4 separate regions of the Homo sapiens genome follow, and regions 1, 2 and 4 are each linked to region 3. The links are contacts of gene promoters, found by promoter capture Hi-C in blood cells and fetal thymus (Javierre and others, 2016). All regions are on one chromosome and are shown on one strand. The core of a region is centred on a gene start or on the middle of the fragment in contact, and the rest is flanking DNA. Distances in the headings are between cores, read along the strand shown.

What was found. Contacts are between HindIII fragments. The CHiCAGO score rates a contact against its expected background, and 5 or more counts as called.
Region 1: a contact is called between the fragment with the promoter of NDUFS8 here and the fragment with the promoter of C11orf24 in region 3, in 8 of 17 cell types (neutrophils, total B cells, endothelial precursors and 5 more). The highest score is 12.5, in neutrophils.
Region 2: the fragment with the promoter of CHKA here is called in contact with the fragment with the promoter of C11orf24 in region 3 in 4 of 17 cell types (neutrophils, activated CD4 T cells, monocytes and 1 more); the score reaches 11.6 in neutrophils.
Region 4: a contact is called between a fragment that was not itself captured here and the fragment with the promoter of C11orf24 in region 3, in 2 of 17 cell types (total B cells and endothelial precursors). The highest score is 5.2, in total B cells.

The regions. Positions count from the first base shown.
Region 1 is chr11:68,029,386-68,032,085 of GRCh38, reverse strand. NDUFS8 (NADH:ubiquinone oxidoreductase core subunit S8) reads right to left here and starts at 1,405. Exons shown (of 7, transcript NM_002496.4): 1 at 1,353-1,405. GLTC1 (glycolysis associated regulator of LDHA post-transcriptional modification 1) reads left to right here and starts at 1,652. Exons shown (of 4, transcript NR_197583.1): 1 at 1,652-1,793; 2 at 2,666-2,700. RefSeq lists enhancers at 1,199-1,378, 1,370-1,664. The HindIII fragment of the contact is 7,666 bases long and covers 1-2,700 here.
Region 2 is chr11:68,119,499-68,122,669 of GRCh38, reverse strand. CHKA (choline kinase alpha) reads left to right here and starts at 1,282. Exons shown (of 12, transcript NM_001277.3): 1 at 1,282-1,842. The coding sequence starts at 1,493. CHKA-DT (CHKA divergent transcript) reads right to left here and starts at 782. Exons shown (of 4, transcript NR_183630.1): 1 at 467-782. RefSeq lists silencers at 428-527, 878-1,307, 1,878-2,007 and enhancers at 1-543, 544-1,309, 2,158-2,287, 2,428-2,557, 2,983-3,171. The HindIII fragment of the contact is 18,960 bases long and covers 1-3,171 here.
Region 3 is chr11:68,270,706-68,273,770 of GRCh38, reverse strand. C11orf24 (chromosome 11 open reading frame 24) reads left to right here and starts at 1,798. Exons shown (of 4, transcript NM_022338.4): 1 at 1,798-1,914. It overlaps LOC105369363 (a long non-coding RNA gene), which reads right to left and starts at 1,669. Exons shown (of 3, transcript XR_950248.3): 1 at 1,595-1,669. RefSeq lists an enhancer at 835-1,689 and a silencer at 1,601-2,000. The HindIII fragment of the contact is 7,211 bases long and covers 1-3,065 here.
Region 4 is chr11:68,451,992-68,455,120 of GRCh38, reverse strand. No RefSeq gene overlaps it. Among named protein-coding and RNA genes, the nearest start is that of PPP6R3, 7.2 kb to the left of the region's middle. The HindIII fragment of the contact is 6,956 bases long and covers 1-3,129 here.

The DNA.
Region 1 (2,700 bases), core at 156-2,655, 240 kb after region 3:
CGCAAGGATCCCAAGTCTCCACTGACATGTGTCACTTTGCCCTCTACTCGCACCCCATTGCTGTCAGAGGCACAGATGGCTTTCCTGTTCCCAGCGCCTCCCAGCTTTCCATCTGATTCAGCTTGGCTGAGCTACAATTCAGTTTCTGTGGACCCCAAGTTCTGCCTCACCTAAGAAACCTTTTAAATCCATCCTTCCTTTCTCCCTCCCAGAGATCCTGTTTCCCACCTTTCTGCTCCTCCCTTCATCCTCCCCAAATCTAACCAAAAACAACATTACCAGCCCCCGCCAGCATGCACTGAGAGCGAACTTTGTTAGCTCTCCTCCCCCAGGAACCGTGCCCAGGGGTGGAAAGCGCTGCCATCCTATCCTTACAAGGACTCCACGAGGGAGGCACAAATAAGGCGCTGGGACTCAGTTTGTTGAGTGACTCGCTAGGGCTGGGTGTGGTGGCTCACGCCTGTAATCCCAGCACTTTGGGAGGCTGAGGCAGGTGGATCACCTGAGGTCAGGAGTTTGAGACCAGCCTGGCTAACATGGTGGAACCCCGTCCCTACCAAAAAATACAGAAATTAGCCAGGTGTGGTGGTGGGCACTTATAATCCCAGCTACTCGGGAGGTTGAGGTAGGAGAATCGCTTGAACCCAGGAGGCAGAAGTTGCAGTGAGCCCAGACTGCACCACTGCCCTCCAACCTGGGCGACAGAGTGAGACCTTGTCTCAAAAAAAAGATAAAAAAGTGACTTGTCGGAAGTCACACGATAAGGAGGTGGGCCGAGGATCGGAACCCAGCCCTGCCCTGCTGGAAACTCTTCAAGGCCTGAACAGTCCTCGGTACCACATTCCTTTCCCCAGCTTCAAGGCCCTCCTGGAACTGTCCCCCAGCCTGCCGCGTGACCTTGGGCAGATGATGTGACCTGACCTCCGTCTTCTCACCTATGAAGTGGGTTGGGGGCGGTTGGTCTTGGGAATTAGGGGAGCCCGTACATGCCAAGGGCACCCCAGAGCCCGGCACTTAGCCGGCGCTCATAAGAGCTCATCCCACGACCTGTGAACCCCCTAACAGGCCCACTCCTTTGGATCACTGACTGCAGTTCCAGGGACCCAACCCAGCACCTTCCCCACCTTCCCAGTGATCTCCGACCCTAACTAGGCCGGTGGCGCAGAGCGGGCGGCGCATGCGCCCTGAGAGCCGGCTCCCCGCTGCACCTGAAGGACACGGAGGCCGCGGATCCTGAGTGAGCCGAGGGGAAGCCCAGGCGCAGAGCTGGCGGCGCCAACGGGGACACCACACTCGCCCCCGACGCCACGCTGCCCAAGCCCGACTTTCACGGCCAAAACGTGAACACCCACCTTGAAGCGCCGCCGCTACTTGCCTTGCCAAGCAGGCCAGTCAATCGGGAGGCGGAGGCTACACTGTAGGACGCTGCCATTGGGCCAGCGGGTTCCCCCTTTTCTGTATTGATGCTTCATGGTGTGGTCTGATTGGCCAGCAAGGCTGCTGAAAGAGGCGGGATTCAGAAATATCTTTCTTTTGATTGGCTAGGAGAGACCGGCGCTTGAAGTTTGTAGGGGGCCGCCATGTTGGTTTGGGGAGGCCAATAAGTGAAGACCTCCGAGCCGCTGGAGGCGGGACATCCGGGGCGTGGTTTAGAAAGAGTGCTTTCGCCGTGGGTGCAGAGGGTGGGCCCGCCGGGTTGGGTGGGGGGCGTGTGATGACGGTAATGGCGACGAGATGCTCAACTCACGCGGCCTCTTTTAATCCTCACAGCAGCTCTGCGTGGAGAAACTACAGTAACGTGTTACCACGTTAAGGCGGGAAGCTGAGGCATGGGAGTATTTAGTAACGTTCCCGGGCCGTAGAGCTGCGGTGTGCGGCCGCCTGATCCACCTGATCTGTATGACTCCCGTACTCAACCAGCCTATGTTTCCTACCAGCGAATTTTTTTTTTTTTTTTTTTTTTTTTCTTTTTTTGAGACAATCTGGCTCTGTGGCTCAGGCTGGAATGCAGTGGTGCGATCTCGGCTCACTGCAGCCTCGACCTCCCAGGCTCGGGTGATCCTCACTTCTCAGCCTCCCGAGCAGCTGGAACCACAGTCGCCTGCCACCACCAGGCTCGGCTAATTTTTGTATTTTTTGTAGAGACGGGGTCTCGCCATGTTGCCCAGGCTGGTCTGGAACTCCTGGACTCAGGCGATCCTCCTGCCTCGGCCTGCCAAAGTGCTGGGATTACAGGCGTGAGCCACCACGCCGGGCCTTTCCCCGGGAATGCTGTGGTAGAGGGACCCGCAGAGGCCCCGAGGCTGCCTGCATGTGTGTGTTGGGAGGATCTGCGCTGAGGGTAGGTAGGAGTTGGGCAGGCCAGGACAGGAAGGAGGCAGAGGGCATGTCCCATGCCCGTGCAGAGGGAGGACACGCATGGTAGACCAGGACGAGGACAAGGGCAGGCTCAGTGTGTGCAAAGGGGACAGTGGTTTGGGATTTGCATGCAGATGCCCGAGCCTCCAAAGGACCTGTGGGCCACAGGGAGACCCTGGGGGAGTTCAAGCTGAGGAGTGGAGAGGGCTTTGGGCTGGTCAGCAGGTGCTCAGAGGAGAGGGGCTGGCCCTAGAGAGAAGGGAGGTCTTGGGATGGTGGCCCACACCTGACCCTGGCCCTTCATCAGGTGATTCCTGCGTGGATGCCTGCGGGGATTCCTGC
Region 2 (3,171 bases), core at 33-2,532, 150 kb after region 3:
CTACTCGGGAGGCTGAGGCAGCAGAATGGCGTGAACCCGGGAGGCGGAGGTTGCAGTGAGCCGAGATCGTGCCACTGCACTCCAGCCTGGGCGACTGAGCAAGACTCCGTCTCAAAAAAAAAACCAAAAAACATTTTTGCTTCTGGAAGACTGTGAACTCCCCACATAGAAGCATTTCCTGTGTATCAGGCACTGGATTTCCTAAGCCCCTGGCAGCCCAGGAAACCTCCTGTTTCAGCTCATGTCCCATAAAATGGGATCCATAATTTTTATATGTATCAGCACCTCACTTCTAGGAAGGACGGGAGCAGTGAGGGACATGGGGCAGTGTGTGGCAAACGGTAGCAGGGGCCCTTGCCCCTCTACCCCGGCAAAGGTGCGTTAGTCACGGTCACAAGGCTGTTTCCTGCGGGGGATGGGGAGGCAGGGGCAGCGTCCACAACGCCAGTAGCCCCGTGGCACGCACCTTTGGCCTGTGCTCTGGGCAGTTGCGGCGGCCCCATGGCGGGGATGATGCCCCTCCCTCGACGGTCCCTGGGCCTCCAGCCCTGAACTTCTAGGCCCGAGCATCCTCAGTACCACGGACAGGGAAACTGAGGCTGCGGGAGGCGTGCAGAGGGCTGGGCCCCGGTAGCCGGCGTGCAGCCGGGCCCAGCCTGGCCCACCGTGTGGCCTCGAGCCCGTCACCTCTTCCCTCCTTCAGACCTCGGTTTCTTAGTAATTCTTCGGGCTCCGCGTTGGACAGGGCGAGACGCGCCTGTGGCAGCGCTGGGAAATGTTACAAAATCACACCCACTGAGCCCCAGGAGGAGGCTGCTCGCCCAAGGTCACGCGGAGAGGGCAGTAGCCTCCAGACACGTTTCCTGCCTGCCCCTGCCAGGCCCGGCCTCTGATGTCACGGGGCTTCCGAGGGGTCCAAGGAAACTTTCAGCTCCCAAAGCCAACCCCGGGGTCCTCCGAGGCTCAGGAGCCTCCCTCGCTCGGCCCAGTCCGGCTCCGTCCCACCGCGGAGGCGCTCTCCCGGCGCCCCCCGCGCCTCGCTCCCCTCTCCCCCTTCCCTGCGACCGCCGGGGCGCCCCCTCGACGCCCCGCCCCCTTCGCCCAGGCCCCGCTCACGGAGGCCGCAGCGCTCTGGGTTGGGGGCGGCGCCGCAGCCAATGGGGAGGCGGTGTGGCGAGGGCGGCGGCGGTTATGATGCGCCGGGCCGGCGGACGGCGGCCAATCAGTGGCGAGCGCGAGGGCGGGCTGTGACGCGGCCGGCGCTCCTCGTGCGGCGGCGGCAGAGGAGCGAGTGCAGCGGCCAGCAGCACATCCCCGCTCCACAGTCGCCGCAGTCGCCGCAGCCGCCGCCGCCGCCCCGCGCGCCCAACCGCCGCGGCCCCCTGCCCCGCCGGCCTGCCAGTGAGAGAGCGGCGAGGGGGCGCCCGGCCGGACTCTGAGCCTAGTCCTCTCGCGCTGCGGCCGCCCGCGCCTCCTCGGCCGCCTGTCGGGCATGAAAACCAAATTCTGCACCGGGGGCGAGGCGGAGCCCTCGCCGCTCGGGCTGCTGCTGAGCTGCGGTAGCGGCAGCGCGGCCCCGGCGCCCGGCGTGGGGCAGCAGCGCGACGCCGCCAGCGACCTCGAGTCCAAGCAGCTGGGCGGCCAACAGCCGCCGCTCGCGCTGCCCCCTCCGCCGCCGCTGCCGCTGCCGCTGCCGCTGCCCCAGCCCCCGCCGCCGCAGCCGCCCGCAGACGAGCAGCCGGAGCCCCGGACGCGGCGCAGGGCCTATCTGTGGTGCAAGGAGTTCCTGCCCGGCGCCTGGCGGGGCCTCCGCGAGGACGAGTTCCACATCAGTGTCATCAGGTCGGTGGCGCCGGGTCTGGGGGCCGCGGGACAGTCAGGTGACGCGGGGCGGGGCCGGGGCGGGGTCCGGGCAGGGGGCGTGGGCCGGGGGGGTCGGGGGCCGGGGGAGCCGGGGCCGGGGCGGAGGCCGGGGACCGGGGACCGCAGCCGGCGAAAGCCCTCCTTCTCCCAGCCCTGGGTAATCCAAGGGAAGCGGGTTCGCGGCCGCCGCAGGCCGTCCACAAACAGGCTTTTGTAAAAACGTCGGTTTCATGAGAAAACGGGTCTGTTCTAGGAGAACAATACCGTTCCATCACGAAGTGCGTGTGGTACTGACGCTTAAGATAGGTCTAGAAAGTCTCTGCGGTTTAGGGCCTTGAATGAAGGTGTTGTGGCTGGCTTTAAAAACACAAACCACTTTTTAACTTTTTTCTGTTAGTTTTTCGAGTTCGCGATTTGATGTCTTGTTCCCTCTCCAAGAGTCATTGTTAGTGGAGGAGTAGCATTTTCTCATCCCCTAAGAGACATCACTATAGCTGTGTTACTAGACAAAGGTGGGAGGCGTGGCTCCTAAAATAAGAGTAAGGTAGAAATGTTTTTTCCTTTTTTTTTTTTTTTTGAGACGGAGTTTCGCTCTTGGTCCCCAGGCTGGAGTGCAGTGGCGCGACCTCGGCTCACTGCAACCACGGCCTCCCGTGTTCAAGCGATTCTCCTTGCCTCAGCCTCCCGAGTAGCTGGGATTACAGACACACGCCACCACGCCCGGCTAATTTTGTATTTTTAGTAGAGACAAGGTTTCTCCATGTTCGTTAGGCTGATCTTGAACTCCCGACCTCAGGTGATCCACCCGCTTCGACCTCCCAAAATGTTGGGATTACAGGCATGAGCCACCGCGCTCGGCCATTTTTTCCTTTTTTTAAACTTGAAAATATTTAATCTTAAATTTGAATTACAGAAGTACGCGTGTAGGTATTCAGACTTAACAGAAGTCTGACCTTCTTTCACCACTCTGCTCCGAAGACATAACCATTCAACGTAGTGTGTGCATCCTTCTATTGAGACCTTTAAAGATGTGTTCCCGGGCCGGGCGCAGTGGCTCACGCCTGTAATCCCAGCACTTTGGGAGGCCAAGGTGGGCGGGTCACGAGGTCGGGAGATCGAGACCAGCCTGGCCAACATGGTGAAACCCCATATCTACTAAAAATACAAAAATTAGCTGGGCATGGTGGCGCACACCTGTAGTCCCAGCTACTTGGGAGGCTGAGGCAGGAGAATCGCTTGAACCTGGGAGGCGGCGGTTGCAGTGAGCCGAGATCACGCCACTGCACTCCAGCCTTTGACAGAGAGAGA
Region 3 (3,065 bases), core at 549-3,048:
TTTTTTTTTTTTTTTAGAAGGAGTCTCGCTCTGTCGCCCAGGCTGGAGTGCAGTGGTGAGATCTCGGCTCACTGAAGCCTCCCCCTCCCAAGTTCAAGCAATTTTCCTGTCTCAGACTCCCGAGTAGCTGGGAATACAGGCACACGCCACCACGCCTGGCTAATTTTTATATTTTTAGTAGAGACGGGTTTCACCATATCGGTCAGGCTGGTCTCAAACTCCTGACCTCAGGTGATCCGCCCGCCTTGGCCTCCCAAAATGTTGGGATTACAGGCGTGAGCCACCGCGCCCAGCCCAGTCATTGATTTTTGAAAAGGGCAGGCAAAGAACTAAAATCTGCCTGCCGATTGTATATTTTCACTTCTGGAGTGAGCCTCAATACTGTACTTCATGTTAGATCCGAACTAGTTGGAAAAATTAAAGCAAATACATAGTGAAAGGATCTGATCTTCACATGATCCAACCGGCGTTGGGTCTCAGCAAACCCAACTTTGCAGGTTAAATTCCACACATGAACTGTGGTTGAACTGGGGATGGTGGTGGTGACATCAAATCGCATTTCAGGTGCTCCCAGAGCTCGGAGTGGATGGTAGATCCTGTCTTTGCCCAATCTCAGCTTTCTGTGTCTCTTAGCTTCCTAGCCGAAGACCCCAAGGCAGGTTATAAAACTGGAAATAAAGTCTTGGTTTGCTCCTGTGAAATCATCCTTCGCAGACAGGTTTTGGTTTGGACCGGGGGATGCCTGAGGGTCTTATACAGACTGGGATTCAGTCACAGAACTACTAACTTGCAAAGCCTATTTCTTTCTTTCTTTTTTTTTTTTGGAGACAGAGTCTCGCTCTGTCGCCCAGGCTGGAGTGCAGTGGCACGATCTCTGCTCACTTCAACCTCCACCTCCCAGGTTCAAGCAATTCTCCTGCCTCAGCCTCCCGAGTAGCTGGGACTACAGGCGCACGCCACCACGCCCGGCTAATTTTTTGTATTTTAGTAGACACAGGGTTTCACCATGTTGCCCAGGCTGGTCTCGAACTCCTGAGCTCAGATAATCCGCCCGTCTCGGCCTCCCAAAGTGCTAGGATTACAGGCAAGAGCCACCGCGCCTGGCCTGCAAAGCCTATTTCTAACCAAAGTCAAGTCCCACACACTTGCCTCTAAATTGCGTTTTGCTCCTTTGTTATCCCAGGTTTTACAATTACAGAGCACTTGATGAGCCTGTTTCCACGTCTGTAAAATGAGGCGAAGTTCTTCACTGTGCTATTGCAGAATTAAGCCACTGGCTCTATAGGCAAAGTGCTTAGCACGGGCGTGGCACGCTGCGGGTGCACAGAAACGCTCGCTGCCACCCCACCCTTAACTACCGGGCACCCCAGCGCCCCGCCAGGGGCTGAAGAAACGTGGGAGGAAGCGGAGGAACGCGAAGGGCGTGTGCCCGCGAAAGGTCTCACGAGGCGTTTCGAGGTCGCCTCTTCAGGCTCGGCTGCCGACAAGGTGCCTCTGAGCTCACCCAGCCCAACCCGCGCACCCCGGGACCCCAAGACGGCAGCGGGCACAGCTGGGCAGCAGAGACCCGGGAACACCCACTTCCGCCACAGACCTGCTCAAAATAGCTCCTTCTGGCAGCGCGCAAGAAGTGGCCCGAGCCGGCCCCGGGGAGGCGGGGCCTGAGAGCAGACAACCCCCCCACTTCCGGCTCGCCTCCGTTCGCCACAGGCCCCGCCGCAGCCGCTCTTCGCCCCGGCCAGCAGGCCCGCCCCGCCCTCCGTGACGTCATTTCCGGCGTTTGGGCGGGGCCCGGGCAGGGCGCGCTGCCCGGAGCTGCCTGGGTTGCGCTGCCGGCCACGTCCCCGCGCCGGGCCTCAGGCTCCTTCCTACTGTCCGAGGGCCACCAGGCCGCCGGGGGCCTGCTGCGCCCGGGTAAGGGGCTCGCACTGCCGTCCGGGTAGCTGCTGTCAGGGCTCCCTGACTGGCTTGGGACTGAGAGACAGAGGTTGGGGGGCAGGAGGAGGGTTGGATGGGGGCACGAGGGGCAGTGGGAGAGTGAGTGGGGCTGAGAGAGGCAGGAGGAACGGGACAGGAGGAGCGGCGGATGGGGCACGCACAGAGTGCAAGACGCTGAGCAATGCAGGTACTGAAGAAGTCAACTGGGGGCCGAGCATGGCTGGGGGCCCAAGAGACAGGAGGAGGGAGGAGGGCCGAAGGGGGCCCAGACTGGAGAAGAGGCCGGCTTGTCCCATTGTGGGAGCAGAATGGGGACACTCTGGAAGGGGGCCGAATTTGTCCTGGGGTCTTTCCCGGGCAAGCCCAGGACGGGACTGGACCCCAAGAAGTGTCGCTCTTACTTGAGTGACACAGACCTATCCCCCAGACCCTCTCTCTACCTGGGTGGAGGTTGTGCATTGCCCCAGATTCCCTCCCCTGCCCATCTGTCTCCCTGCCTGCTTCCCCCGTGCGAGTCACTTAGTAGCCCCCGTGTGGCTGCTTAGCATGTTGACTTAATCGTTAGGCTGATAGGAGGAATCGGCCTCCACACGCATGGTTTGCCACCAGAAATAATCATCGTGCTTAGAAATCTGACTGTAATAACTTGCAGCTATCCCTCGCCCCAGGAAAATCTCTAACATTTCGATAAAATCAGCTAGGAAAATCTTTAAAATACAGATGTTTCCATTTATACAGTGGATCTGCCTAATGGACAAAGGAATGTCAGAGCTACCCACGTTCTTAGCAAAAACTAGGCCCTAGTATTTAGCTGTGTTACCAAAACTTCCAGAAACCTGGAAGCAAGCAAGGTAGTTAATGTAATATAATAAATGTCCAATGTTCTAGGTTCCCGTCTGCCACAGAGTCACATCCTTTGGACTACAGGACAATGTCTATATACACAAAGCCATAAGTCTGTGTTCCTTGGGCTTCTGCTACCAAAGTTCAGCCAGGTGACGTGTCAGGATTAGGTACCTGCAGTTTGCCCTGTATTTGTGTTTGCAGTTCCTACTCCTTGGTATCTGTAGCTTGCCTAACTTGGTGTGGGGGCCTGGCCATGTTGCGGCTGAGTGAGTCTTAATAGC
Region 4 (3,129 bases), core at 3-2,502, 180 kb before region 3:
GCTCAGACACTGCCTCCTCCAAGAAGCCCCCTCTGGCTTCCTGTGTGAATATGACGGCCCTCTGGGCTCTAGGGTATCTTAGAACAATGCTTCCTTATGGCTTTGGAACCCCGCTGTCTCCTGGATTGGGAGCAAATGCAGGGGAGGAGCCACACCTGACTAATCTCTGGGTCTCCCAGCACATAAGTGGCATAAGGGCAGGGCTGTGCCCGCTTCAGGCACTTACTGAAGGATGTACTTGGCAGAGGGTAGGCAGCCGGCGGATGAGCCCCTCACTCTCCCCAGCTGACTGCGTGGGCGGGAAAGGCGGGTTCAGGAGACCCAGCCTCCCTGGGCTGTCACCACCTCTGCACATCCAGCCCCATTGATCAAGGGTTCAATTTTTGGGGTCCTGTTGGGAGGCCAGGAGACTCTCTCCAGGCACTTCTTCCAGGTCTTTGTGTTAGGGTGTGTGTGTGTGTGTGTGTGTGTGTGTGTGTGTTGTTTGTTTTATTTTATTTATTTATTTATTTATTTATTTATTTATTTATTTATTTATTTTGAGACGCAGTCTCGCTCTGTTGCCCAGGCTGGAGGGTGGTGGCATGATCTCGGCTCACTGCAAGCTCCGCCTCCCGGGTTCACGCCATTCTCCTGCCTCAGTCTTCCTGAGTAGCCGGATTACAGGCGCACGCACCATGCCTGGCTAATTATTTTGTTTTTTTAGTAGAGACAGGGTTTCGCCACGTTGCCCAGGCTGGTCTTGAATCCCTGGCCTCAAGCGATCCGCCCGCCTCAGCCTCCCAAAGTGCTGGGATTACAGGCGTGAGCCACCGTGCCCGCCCAGCCTAGGGGTACATGAAACTTTTTTTTTTTTTTTTTTGAGACAGAGTTTCACTCTGTCCTCAGGCTGGAGTGCAGTGGCGTGATCTCGGCGTACTGCAATCTCCGCCTCCCGGTTCAAGCGATTCTCCTGCCTCAGCCTCCCGAGTAGCTGGGATTGCAGGCACGCGCCACCACACCCAGCTAATTTTTGTATTTTTAGTAGAGACGGGCTTTCACCATGTGGGACAGGATGGTCTCGATCTCCTGACCTCGTGATCCGCCCGCCTCAGCCTCCGAAAGTGCTGGGATTACAGGCCTGAGCCACCGTGCCCAGCCATGATGTTTTGATACAGGCATATAACGTATAATAATCACATCAGGGTAAATGATGTAACCATCACATCAAGCATTTATCCTTTGTGTTACAAAAAAAAATCTAATTATACTTTCCTACTTATTCTTTTTTTTTTTTTTTGTTGAGACGGAGTCTCCCTCAGTCGCCCAGGCTGGAGTGCAGTGGCATGATCTCAGTTCACTGCAAGCTCTGCCTCCTAGCTCTGCCTCCTGGGTTCATGCCATTCTCCTGTCTCAGCCTCGCGAGTAGCTGGGACTACAGGCGCCTGCCACCGTGCCCGGCTAATTTTTTTTTTTGTATTTTTGGTAGAGACAGGGTTTCACCGTGTTAGCCAGGATGGTCTCGATCTCCTGACCTCATAATCCGCCCGTCTCGGCCTCCCAAAGTGCTGGGATTACAGGCATGAGCCACCGCCCCCAGCCTATTTATTCTTAAATGTACAATAAATTATTGTTGACTCCAGTCACCCTGCTGTGCTACCAAATACGGATCTTCTTCATTCTATCTAACTGTATTTCTGTACCTGTTAACCATCTCTCCTCCACCTCACCCCCCAAACCCACTACCCTTCTCAGCCTCTGGTAACCATCCTTCTACTCTCTATCTCTATGAGTTCAATTGTATTAATTTTTAGCTCCCCGGCCGGGCATGGTGGCTCACGCCTGTAATCCCAGCACTTCAGGAGGCTGAGGCAGGTGGATCACGAGGTCAGGAGTTTGAGACCAGCCTGGCCAACATGGTGGAACCCCATCTCTACTAAAAACACAAAAATTAGCTGGGCGTGGTGGTGGGCGCTTGTAGTCCCAGCTACTTGGGAGGCTGAGGCAGGAGAATCGCTTGAAACTGGGAGGCAGAGGTTGCAGTGAGCCAAGATTGCGCCACTGCACTCCAGTCTGGGTGACAGAGTAAGATTCCATCCCGAAAAAAAAAAAGTTTAGCTCCCACAAATAAGTGAGAACACGTGAAGTTTCTCTTTCTGTGCCTCGCTTGTTTCACTTAACATAATGACCTCCAGTTCCATCCACGTTGTTGCTTTGTTATAAATGACAGGATCTTGGTCAGGCGCAGTGGCTCATGCCTGTAATCCCAGCACTTTGGGAGGCTGAGGTGGACTGATCATGAGGTCAAGAGATCGAGACCATCCTGGCTAACACAGTGAAACCCCGTCTCTACTAAAAATACAAGAAATTAGCCGGGCGTGGTGGTGGGCACCTGTAGTCCCAGCTACTCAGGAGGCTGAGGCAGGAGAATGACATGAACCCGGGAGGAGGAGCTTGCAGTGAACTGAGATTGCGCCACTGCACTCCAGCCTGGGCGACAGAGCGAGACTCCGTCTCAAAAAAAAAAAAATGTTTGGTAAAATTCAGCAGTGAAGCCATTTGTTCCTGGGCTTTCTTTGTTGGGAAACATTTTATTACAGTTTTCATCGCATTACTTGTTATTGGTCTGTTCAGGTTTTTGTTATTTTAATTTTTTTGAGATGGAGTCTGGCTCTGTCGCCAAGGCTGGAGTGCAGTGGTGCAACCTCGGCTCGCTGCAACCTATGCCTCCCAGGTTCAAGTGATTTTCCTGCCTCAGCCTCCCGAGTGGCTGACATTAGAGGCACCCGCCACCACGCCCGGCTAATTTTTATATTTTTTCAGTAGAGATGGGGTTTCACCATGTTGGCCAGGCTGGTCTCGAACTCCTGATCTCAGGCCTTCCAAAGTGCTGGGATTACAGGCGTAAGCCACCGTGCCCGGCCTGTTCAGGTTTTGGATTTCTTCATGGTTCAATCTTGATAGGTTGTATGTGTCTAGAAATTTACCCAGTTCTTCTAGGTTTTCCAGTTCATTAGCATATAGTTGCACATAGTTGCCTCTAATGATCCTTTGAATTTCTGTGGTATCAGTGGTAATGTCTCCTTTTTAATCTCGGATTTTATTTATTTGGGTCTTCTCTCTTTTTTTCTTAATCTGGCTAAAGGTTTG